Linked DNA regions of Homo sapiens: region 2 is linked to region 1. Evidence: promoter capture Hi-C in human tissues and cell types (Jung and others, 2019). All regions are on one chromosome and are shown on one strand. The core of a region is centred on a gene start or on the middle of the fragment in contact, and the rest is flanking DNA. Distances in the headings are between cores, read along the strand shown.

Region 1 (5,494 bases), core at 1,143-3,642:
GGCCAACATGGTGAAACCCCATCTCCACTAAAAATACAAAAATTAACCGGGCAAGGTGGCACACACCTGTAATCCCAGCTACTCGGGAGGCTGAGGCAGGAGAATAGCTTAAACATGAGAGGCGGAGGTTGCAGTGAGCCGAGATCGCACCACTGCACTACAGCCTGGGTGACACAGAGCACTCCGTCTCAAAAAAAAAAAAAAAAAAAAAAAAGGGATGCTAACTACCACCTCACAAAATTCTTGGGAAGACTGCCTAAGATCTATACCACCTAGCATAATTACTGGGTACAGAATAGGCAACTCAACAACATTAGTTCCTTTTCTTGGTCTTAAATTATTTAAGATTAAGAAAACACCTCATAATCAACGAAGGCTAATTAACAATCCGCATTATTAATCACTGGTCAACAATGAACCTGTGTTTGCTGCCTTCTTCATACTCCAACCCATTCCCTTCCCAGCTCACTATTTCCAGCTTTTCAAACTTTAGTTACTATGTTTAGAAAAGTGATTTAATTTTAGAAACCTGGAAAATTCTTCTAGGAGTAAATTCTTCTAGGAGTAAATTGAGCAAAACCTTAATCTGCCCCCAGGGGAATTCTGAGCAAAACAATTATTTCTGACAAAAGAAGAATTTTCTATGGGGGTAATTCAATTTAACCACATGAATACTACCAAAGTTGCAAACAAGGTGACAGAAGGCAATCTGGAACACACCTTCCAGATTCCCCAAAAAGAAATGTCCTCCTAAAATCCAAACCCCTCCCTCCCTAATTTGAGGTAGTCAAATCTTATTAGGTGATCTGAATTCTCCCGGCTCTGACACCAGTCCAGCTCCTTAGGCCAGAACTGCAGCCGTCTGTAAAAGAAATACCCTGAGCAAACCCCACCCCTCAAAACATCCCCAAAAGGCAGGGAGGTCCAGAGAGTATTTTCTCCTCCAACGACAGATAAGGCACCAAGGGCTCAGCAGCGCAATCCTTCTCCCAAGGTCATTCAAGTCAGTGAAGGTGCGACGGTGGAGCTGCAGGCAGTCTGGCCTTCTGGAAATCACACTACAGGGGTTTTGGGGGTGCCTACTCTCTTCCCCTCTCCCACCCGCAAGGGTGAGCACTGGCCTCGGCATTCCCGAAACAAGCCACAACAAGCTCTGCAGTGTTAGGAAAGGGGTTGACGCGATGAAGAAACAGATGCTCCAAAGCAAGATGGTCTTTCTCGGCTCACAGAGGCTCCTCCAAGGTTATGCACAGAAACCGCAGCCACCTCCAAGAGCTCTAAACCGGGCTCCGAAGCCCCAGCGCGGCCGCTGCGGGTCGCCAGGTTCCCTGCAGGCAGGCTCCGCAGCCAGAGGCCACCAGCCCCAGAAACCGCACTTCATTCCTGCGCTCCGGGAAGCCATGGCTCCTTCCCTGCCCGGGCGGCTGGGCGGGGGCCGGGGGTGCGCCGGGAGGCGGGCCCCGCGCTGCGGAAAGTTCACCGCGGCGGGCGGGGGGAGGCCCCGGCCCCGCTCGCCGGCGTCCCCCTGCAGATTCCACCATTAATTAGTCCTAAGGACTGTCTACTGGCAACTTAAACAAAGCGAATGCCTCGAATTCCTTCCCGGCCCAGCGGTCTGGCTGCGAGACCAGCAGAGCGCCCGGGACGCGGGCCGGCGCGGCCGACAGCTGCGGCGGCCGCGGGACCCCTCCCCGCCCGGCCCGCGGCCCGCGCCCCGCGCCCGCAGCTGGCCCCGCACGCCGGCCCGACGCGCTCCCAAACCGCCCTCCTCCTCCTGCTGCTGCAGCTCCCGGGCCCTTCCTGTCTGATCACTTCCTTCCTCCGGTGCCCGCCGGGCCCCGCGCAGCCCCCTCCACGGCCGCCTCGTCGCCCCCCGCCCCTGTCGGCCCGCGCCCCCTCCCCCAACCCCAAACTCTACCCCCGAAACTCTTCGCCGCCCCCTCGAAAATGTCTCCTCCGCGTCTCTGCCCCAAACATTTCTCCTCAGAGTCTCGCTCCCACCAAGAAGTCTCCTCAGAACCTTCCCTCCCCCTCCCGAGGAAAAATCTCCTCAGAGTCTCTTCCTCCAACTCCACAAACATGTGCTGGGTCTCGCCCCAAAAGGTCTCCTCCTGAGCCCTTCCTCCAAAATCCATTCCAACTCTCCCCCAACTCCACACCCCATCTCTCCTCGGCTGCGCCCGCGGTTTCTTCTGCCCCGTGGCCGCGGGTGCCCCGACCTCACCCGGGACCGGCCTCCCAACCCCGCCGCCCTCCCCTCCCCGCGCCGCGCTCCCGCCGCCGCCGCCTCACGGACCCTCACCTCTGCGGCCCCGAACCGCGCTCCCGCCAGCGAAGGGTTCCGCCGCTCAGCTGCCAGCGACCGGCGCCTCCTCTGGCTCCGCGGGACTGACAATGAGGGGCGGGGCCAAATTGTGACGTCAGCGTTCTGGAAGGCGGGGTCTTTGTGATGGGCGGGGTTGTCTGTAGGCCCCGCCCCCTCCGTCCTTTTTTTCCCTTCCCAGGACTTAGACTCCACCAAGTTTTTATTGCCTCCGTAGCTGGGTCCTGTGCTAGGCGCCCTGGGAAATCGAAATGGAAGACAAGACTTCTCGATTTCAGGAGGGACACTTTCGGCCCGCGTGGTGGCTCAAGTCTGTAATCCCAGAACTTTGGGAGGCTGAGGCGGACGGATCGCTTAAACTCAGAAGTTCGAGACCAGCCTGGGCAACATGGCGAAACCCCATCTCTATAAAAAATACAAAAATTAGCCGGGAGTGGTGGCGCCCGCCGGTAAGCTAAAGTAGGAGGATCGCTTGAGCCGAGGGAGGTCGAGGCTGCAGTGAGCCGTGATCGTGCCACTGCACTCCGGCGTGGGTGACAGAGTGAGACCCTGTCTCAAAAGAAAAAGAAAAAAGCGGGACACTCTCAGTAGGGTTGTGAGGATTAAATGAGATAATCAATGGAAAGGTGCTTAGCCTAGAACCTGATATGGAATAATCACTCAACAAATCCTATTTCTATTACTCTGCAAATGCAGAGAAGGAACTCAGCTCAGACTCGGGAGGCATGGGTTCCCGTCCCCCACTGTGCTATTAATTCTTTGTGTGATGCTAGACAAGTACTTTCCCATCTATGTTCCCGATTTTCATCTTCTTTAAAATGGGAAGGGGGAATAACCAGATGATCTCAAAATCCCCTCCCATACTTCTATGACATACTTCCTTTAAGTCTACTATCTAAAAGGCACCTAGTGCCCTGAGAAGCCAGGAGGAAGGCTTCAAAGACAGCCCAAGACCCACACCCAGCATAGTACAGGACACAGCCAGAGACTGCTCTCGCTGCGGATGCCCTCCCACACGCTGGCACGCAGCAGCATTCACAAGCCAGGACACAGATGGGCTGAGGGCTGCTTCCTCTCTGACTACAGCAGCATGGTTGGTCTCTTGAGACATCTCTTGTGTAAGCTCTTTATTGCCTATGGAATAAAGGCCAAAGCCCTGGCCTGGTATGATCACTTCCTACCTTTACACACACACACACACACACACACACACAAAGTTTATCCAAACTTCTCTTAGCACACCCACTGCTTTCCCACATTTGACCCTTTGCTGAAGCTCTTCCCCTGCTGTCTCACCTCCCAGCTTCTCCCAGCCAGAAAGCAATCCTCCCTGTTCTGAATAACCAATAACATTGTGTTTAACCCTCACGTGGGCATGAACACTACAACTTATAAAGAACTGACCTCCCATTTGTTTCTTAGCACTTCCTGGAGGTCAGAACCCACACATGTTTGTGGAGCTCAAGCTCTGATGCCAGAAAACCCTGGGATCATATGTTCTGGGGTCATAATAGCCATCTCTGAGCCTGTCTTCTCATCTATAAAATGGGGATAATAATATAGTCTTGTGGTGTTTGTTTTAAAATTACCTAAGATACTGTATGGAAAACATCAGGCACAGTGTTCCACAAACAATATGAACAATATGATTGTCATTCTTATTTTCTTTTTCTTTCTTTTTTTTTTTTTTTTTTTTTGAGACGAATTTTCTCTCTTGTCGCCCAGGCTGGAGTGCAGTGGCACGATCTCAGTTCACTGCAACCTCTGCCTTCCAGGTTCAAGAGATTCTCCTGCCTCAGCCTCCCAAGTAGCTGGGATTACCGGCACTTGCCACCACACCTGGCTAATTTTTGTATTTTTAGTAGAGACGGTGTTTCACCATGTTGGCCACGCTGGTCTCGAACTCCTGACCTCAGGTGATCCACTCACCTTGGCCTCCGTAAGTGCTAGGATTACAGACGTGAGCCACCACATCAGGCCCCTGTCATTCTTATTTTCAGTAGTATTATATTGACCAGGCGCGGTTGCTCATGCCTGCAATCCCACCACTTTGGGAGGATCACTTGAGTCCAGGGGGATGGATCACTTGAGTCCAGGAGTTTGAGACCAGCCTGGGCAACATGGCAAAACCCCGTCTTTACAAAAAATACTAAAAATTAGCCAGGCCTGGTGGTGCCCGTGCAGTCTCAGCTACTCAGGAGGCTGTGGTGGGAGGATCCCTTGAACCTGGGAGGTGGAGGCTGCAATAAGCCATGATAATGCCACCGCACTACAGCCTGGTGACAGATCGAGACCCTGTCTCAAAAAAAAAAAATATATATATATATATATAATTACTGTATGATTTATATATGTATTTTTATATATAACTACTATAATCAGTATTATTTCTAGTTATTAACACCACACAGCACCTCATAACAATCCACCTAATCATTTCATATGGAAGACTTTAGGGTCTTGAGAAAGGAAGAGGCTTGCTGAAAGTGGCCCTGCAAAGCATTCCCATTGGAATGGAAACCAGCACTCCAGTCTGCAGACCCCAGATGGATTCAGCAGAGTCACATCTGATGATGCCCCAGGGCATCTCTGCCATTCAGCATGCCTCCAAGCTGGGGTCAGCGTGTAGTTCTCTCTGAGAGTTCTTTGCAGCACAGCTGACCCATTTCTGCTTCATGCCTTTCTCCTCTCACCTTCTTTACAGAGACGTGGATCTGTGTTAAACCGCCCTTGGCATCTCTGCAATCCTCTAGGAGAACTGCAATGAGGCACTGGGCATTTCTAGAGCACTGGCCTGTGGAAGGAGGGGAGGAACTTTGGGGTTCTGATTAATTTCCTATGCTGCAGGCAGGCACATGGGTGTCCTGAAATGCCTGGCCCGGTCTTCAAAGGCCTCTAATAAATTATAGCTTATTTTTAGAAAAAATATTCAAAAACACCACTTCCTGTGAAAAGTAATCATGGCTGTAAGATTGCTGGAGGCAAAGGAAGGGCCTTTACTGAGTTGCTCCTAAGGGCTAATGCTGATTCCAAGTACCACAAACCCTTGGAAGGAAGAACCCAGGACATATAAGGGAGGTTCTGAAGAAAGAACTTTCTCCCCAGGACCCATGATCCCAGCAACCACTTATTGATTTATTCATAGCAAAAGCTTTGGCACAGGAAAGATCG
Region 2 (5,494 bases), core at 997-3,496, 55 kb after region 1:
TTCCCCATGACTCTACTTATAGTTGGGATGCCACACTTTTCACAATGATTTTGTGTTTACCTCCCCCAATATTATGAGTTTCTAGAGGCCAGCTTGTGTCTTACTCACCTAGGTATCCCCAGTGCCTAGCACTGAATCTGGTACATTGTAAGCATTCAACCAAGGATGGATGGATGGATGGATGAATGGATGGATGGATGGATAAATTAATGAAAAAAGAAGACACCCCGCCACTCCTATGCCCATAGAGTGCCCCTCTGCTTCAGAGGTGGGAGTCAGGCTTATTCTTTTTTAAAGAGGGTTAAATGAATCGTGTGTCTGGGGACAGGTGTCTGGGGCAAGCTTTGTCATTAGACAGTCTGTGGTTTGCAGTTTCTTCAGGAGAGAGCTGTCTAGACAGAAGGGAGGAACAAGGACTGCATGGGAATCAGGATCCTGGGGAGGGCTTCTCAGGGAATGGGAAGCCCGGGCTTCTCGCTCTTTTTTTCTTTCTCATCACTCAGGATCTGGCTGAGAAAATATGCTACCTGCCCCTAGCAGTGGAAATAGGTTCATAGCTTTTACCTGAGGATGACAAAGAGGGGTACAGCAAACCCCTCACTAGCTAGCAACAGGGTAAAGTTTTTTGTTTGTTTTTGTTTTTGTTTTGAGACAGAGTCTCATTGTGTTGTCCAGGCTGGAGTGCAGTGGTGCGATCTCAGCCCACTGCAACCTCTGCCTCCCAGGTTCAAGTGATTCTCATGCCTCAGCCTCCCGAGTAGCTGGGATTACAGACACGTGCCATCACGTCTGGATAAATTTTTGTATGTTAGTAGAGATGGGGTTTCACCAGGTTGCCCAGGCTGGTCTTGAACTCCTGAGCTCATGTAATTCACCCGCCTAGGCCTCCCAAAATCCTGGGATTACAGGTGTGAGCCACCATGCCTGGCCTTTGTGTGTGTGTGTGCATGTGTGTGTATGTGTGTATGTGTGCGCCAAGCACTGCACTAAGGGCCTAACATGCATTCTCCTCTCCATTGCCCTCTGGGGAAAGTACTATTGTGTATTTCCACTCTATAGATGAAGGAACAGACTCAGAGATTAAGTAACTTTCTCTTGCAAGGGTAGTAACAGGACAAGGTCCTCAGTTACATCAGACTCCCCATGAATCAGGTATCTGTCTAGTCAACAAATAATTTGAGCATCTTCTCTTTACACATTGCTGTGGCAAGTGGGGTGGGCCAGTAAGGATAAGTAAGATGTGATTTCTACTTTGAAGAAGTTTCTAACTTGAAGACGGAGATGAAGGCTTCCTTATCTTTGTATTCCCAGTTCAGGGCCTGGCAATACAGTGACTGTTGAATAAAGCACAGGTCGTTAGAGCTAGAAGGGTCTTTGGAGTTTGAGTGTGTTAATCCTGTTAATTTACAGTTGGGAAAACTGAGACCTAGAAGGAGGAATTACCTGGAAAACACAGTTAGGAGAGGAGCTTGGGCTCTGCAGCCAGCCTACTTAGTTTGAATCTCAGCTCTACCACTTATTAGCTGTGTGACTTTGAGTTGGTCACTTAACCTCTCTGATTCTCAGTTTTCTTGTCCAAGAAAGAGGGAATAAAGTTGTGAGAATTAAGTGAGATCATCCATGCTTAGGGTTTAGTATCATCCTCATTATTATTATTGTTATTTGAGATGGGGTCTTATTCTGTCACCCAGGCTGGGGTGCAGTGGCACGTTCTCAGCTCACTACAACCTCCGCTTCCTGGGCTCAAGTGATTCTCCTGCCTCAGCCTCCTGACTAACTGGAACTACAGGCACACGCCAGCATGCCTAGCTAATTTTTTATATTTTTGGTAGAGATGGGGTTTTGCCATGTTGCCCAGGCTGGTCTGGAACTCCTGAGCTCAAGTGATCTGCCCACCTTGGCCTCTGAAAGTGCTGGGATTACAGACGTGAACCACTATGCCTGGCCCATTATTATTATCATTATTTTATTTTATTTTTTTGAGAAGGGGTATTGGGGGAACCTGCCCCCAATATTTCAGCATAGGTTCTTTCTATTTTCCCTAAGTGTTGGCTGGCCTGAGAAATAAAGAGGAAGAGTACAAAGAGAAGAGTTTTACAGCTGGGCCACTGGGGGTGACATCACTTATCAGTAGGTCTCTGATGCTCACCTGAGCTGCAAAACCAACAAGTTTGTATTAGGGATTTCAAAAGGGGAGAGGGTGTACGAACAGGGAGTAGGTCACAAAGATCACATGCTTCAAAGGGCAAAAAGAGAACAAAGATCACATGCTTCTGAGGAAACAGGGCAAGGACAAAAGCAAAGATGACAAGGCAAAGGGCAAAATTAGAATTACTGATGAGGGTCTATGTTCAGCTGTGCACATATTGTCTTGATAAACATCTTAAACAACAGAAAACAGGGTTTCAGAGCAGAGAACCAGTCTGACCTCAAATTCACCAGGGTGGGGTTTTTTTCCTACCCTAATAAGCCTGAGAGTACTGCAGGGGACCAGGGCATATTTCAGTCCATAGGACAGACACTCTCAGAGTGGGCATTTATAGACCTCCTCCCAGGAACGCAATTCTTTTCCCAGAGTATTAATTATCAATATTCCTTGCTGGGAAAAGAATTTAGCAATAGCTCTCCTACTTGCACATCCGTTTATAGGCTCTCTGCAAGAAGAAAAATATGGCTCTTTTTGCCCGACCCCGCAGGCAGGCAGACCTTATGGTTGTCTTCCCTTGTTCCCTAAAAATTGCTATTATTCTGTTCTTTTTCAAGGTGCACTGATTTCATATTGTTCAAACATACATGTTTTACCATCAATTTGTACAGTTAGATACAATTATCACAGTGGTCCCGAGGTGACATACATCCTCAGCTTACGAAGATAACAGGATTAAGAGATTAAAATAAGACAGGCGTAAGAAATTATAAGAGTATTATTTGGGAAGTGATAAATGTCCACATTAAAATGAAATCTTCACAATTTATGTTCAGAGATTGAAGTAAAGACAGGCATAAGAAATTATAAAACTCTTAATTTTGGGAACTGATATATGTCAATATTAAAATGAAATCTTCACAATTTATGTTCTTCTGCCATGGCTCCAGTCGGTCCCTCTGTTTGGGGTCCCTGACTTCCCGCAACAAAGGGGTTTTACTCTGTCATCCAAGCTGGAATGCAGTGGCTCAATCATAGCTCACTGCAGGCTCAAACTCCTAGGCTCAAACAATCCTCCTGCCTCAACCTCCCAAGCAGCTGGGACTACAGGCACATGCCACCACAACTGGCTAAATTTTAAATTTTATGTAGAAATAGGATCTCCCTATGCCCAAGCTGGTCTCAAACTCCTGGACTCAAGAGATCCTCCCATCTCAGCTTCCCAAAGTGTAGGATTACAGGCATGAGCCACCACACCCAGCATGTGTGGGGTTTAGCATAACGCTTAGCACACAATCCCGCAATACATTTTGCTCTGATTACTATTAAACAATTGCATAGTGAGTTAGTAACTCAGGGCTTCCTGACTCCCAGTCCAGTGCTCTTTCCAGTTCCCCATGGTTCCTGCATCTACTGGAGTATAATCAGGGGAGGTGTGGGGGTGGTATGTGTGTGATCACATGTCCGCTGTCCTTGGGGACAAGTGCCTTGTGTCCCCCAGCCCATATCTCAGTGCCTCTCGCCATGCCTCTTCTCTGTCTTTGAAGCCTTCCCCGTTCTCCCCCCTTGACCAGAGTCCAGAGACTCAACCCTAAATGAAACACGCAATGAAATGCCTGATAACATCCTTTCACCTCCCATTGCAATTTCCTCTGGGCCAGATGGGGTGAGGCTGAGCCTGGGAAGGAGCCAACAGGAAATTCCCGGGGAGCAGCAAGGGATGGGTGTCCAAGGGCAGTCAGTGATACCATCTCCAGCATCGAGCCTCTGAGCCAGGAAGAGACAAGTCTCGCAGGAGAGGTTTTGCTGTTTGTTTTCCTCGGGCTTGACTTCTAACGAGAGAATTTAATTAAGAGCTCGATTGCCTCGCCTGGGGAATAGGAATCCGAGGGGATGGCAGAGCTGAGGCCGGTGGCCGAGGGGAAGGGAGGGAGGGGCCTCTTTGGACTCAGATTGAACTGTGATGGGCTTAAACTGCCCCAGAGAAGTTCGGCTCACAGGGTCTTTTGGTCTAATCCCAAAACAAGATTCTTCTCCTACAGGAACTTGTAAGTTTTAGATTCTGTGGTGCAAATTAAAAGACATTTAAACCAGTCAAGGAAACAGGCAAAGTTTGATATTCCCAATTGTTCCCACTCACACTGTTAAAGAAAAAATTATTCTTATTAATAATAAGGCAATGGTGGGCTGGGCATGGTGGCTCACACCTGTAATCCCAGCACTTTGGGAGGCCGAGGCAGGTGGATCACTTGAGGTCACGAGTTTGAGACCAGCCTGGCCAACATGGTGAAACTCTCTCACCTGGGCCTCCCAAAGTGCTGAGATTGCAGGCATGCACCACACCATACCCGGTTCCCCCGGACCTAGAAGGAGGCCTGCACACATTAGACCCACAGTAAGTATTATTTCCTGAATGAATAAAATAATATAAAGCAGGCTTATTAGTTTCCTCACAGGACTGTGTGAGGTTTCCAGTTTGTTCACAACCCAACTCCTCCCTCCCCTGCTCATCTGCGAAATGAGCATAGTAAAAGTATTTACCTGTGTTGGCAGGCGCATGTGAAACCATGCCGGTCAAGTGTTTAGCATGGGCCAGGTGCATAGTAAGTGCCCCAGAAAAATCAGGGGGTTGAATAGACAGTAAAGGTTTACTCCACACTTGTGTGTGATATGGAGAAAACTCCAGAACTCAGGTATAGGATGCAGGAAGACAAGGGTCTGCAATGGGGGAGTCCAGGCAGGAGGCTGTCGCGAGAGGTGTGGGTCCTGACTCCAGGCAGTGGTGTGGGGAAAAAGATGAGGAGACAAAAATTAGGACTATTTCTGAGAAGTTCACTAGTTTTTTGTTTGTTTGTTTTGTTTTGTTTTGTTTTTTGAGACAGAGTCTTGCTCTGTCACCCCGGCTAGAGTGGGTGATCTCGGCTCACTGCAACCTCCGTCTCCCGGATTCAAGCGATTCTCCTGCCTCAGCCTCCCAGATTCAAGCGATTCTCCTGCTTCAGCCTCCCAAGTCGCTGGGACTACAGGTGTGCATTACAATGCCCAGCTAATTTTTGTATTTTTAGTAGAGACCGGGTTTCACCATGTTGGCCAGGCTGGTCTCAAACTACTGACCTCAAGTGATCCCCCCACCTCGGCCTCCCAAAGTGCTGGGGTTACAGGCATGAGCTACCATGCCTGGCTGAAGTCCGCTAGGTTCTAACTGGACTGATCCCAGACTTAGGGAGAGACACAGAGAGCATCCTCAGATAACCCCACCACCTTCCAGTCTTGTAAGTCACCCCCCATGTATTGGGCTAACAGAGTATTCCAGGACAACACTCCTCTGAACATTTCAATCAATAAGAG

The links. The method cuts DNA at HindIII sites, captures the fragments that hold promoters and counts their contacts. A contact is called where the count stands out against the background at its distance.
Region 2: a contact is called between a fragment that was not itself captured here and the fragment with the promoter of LUZP1 in region 1, in 2 of the 25 tissues and cell types used here (H1 embryonic stem cells and neural progenitor cells).

What each region holds. Positions count from the first base shown.
Region 1 is chr1:23,166,464-23,171,957 of GRCh38, forward strand. LUZP1 (leucine zipper protein 1) reads right to left here and starts at 2,393. Exons shown (of 4, transcript NM_001395462.2): 1 at 2,303-2,393. RefSeq lists enhancers at 1,099-1,630, 1,631-2,162, 3,238-3,287 and silencers at 1,402-1,541, 2,533-2,592. The HindIII fragment of the contact is 15,099 bases long and covers 2,185-5,494 here.
Region 2 is chr1:23,221,396-23,226,889 of GRCh38, forward strand. No RefSeq gene overlaps it. Among named protein-coding and RNA genes, the nearest start is that of HTR1D, 6.6 kb to the left of the region's middle. The HindIII fragment of the contact is 4,643 bases long and covers 1-4,568 here.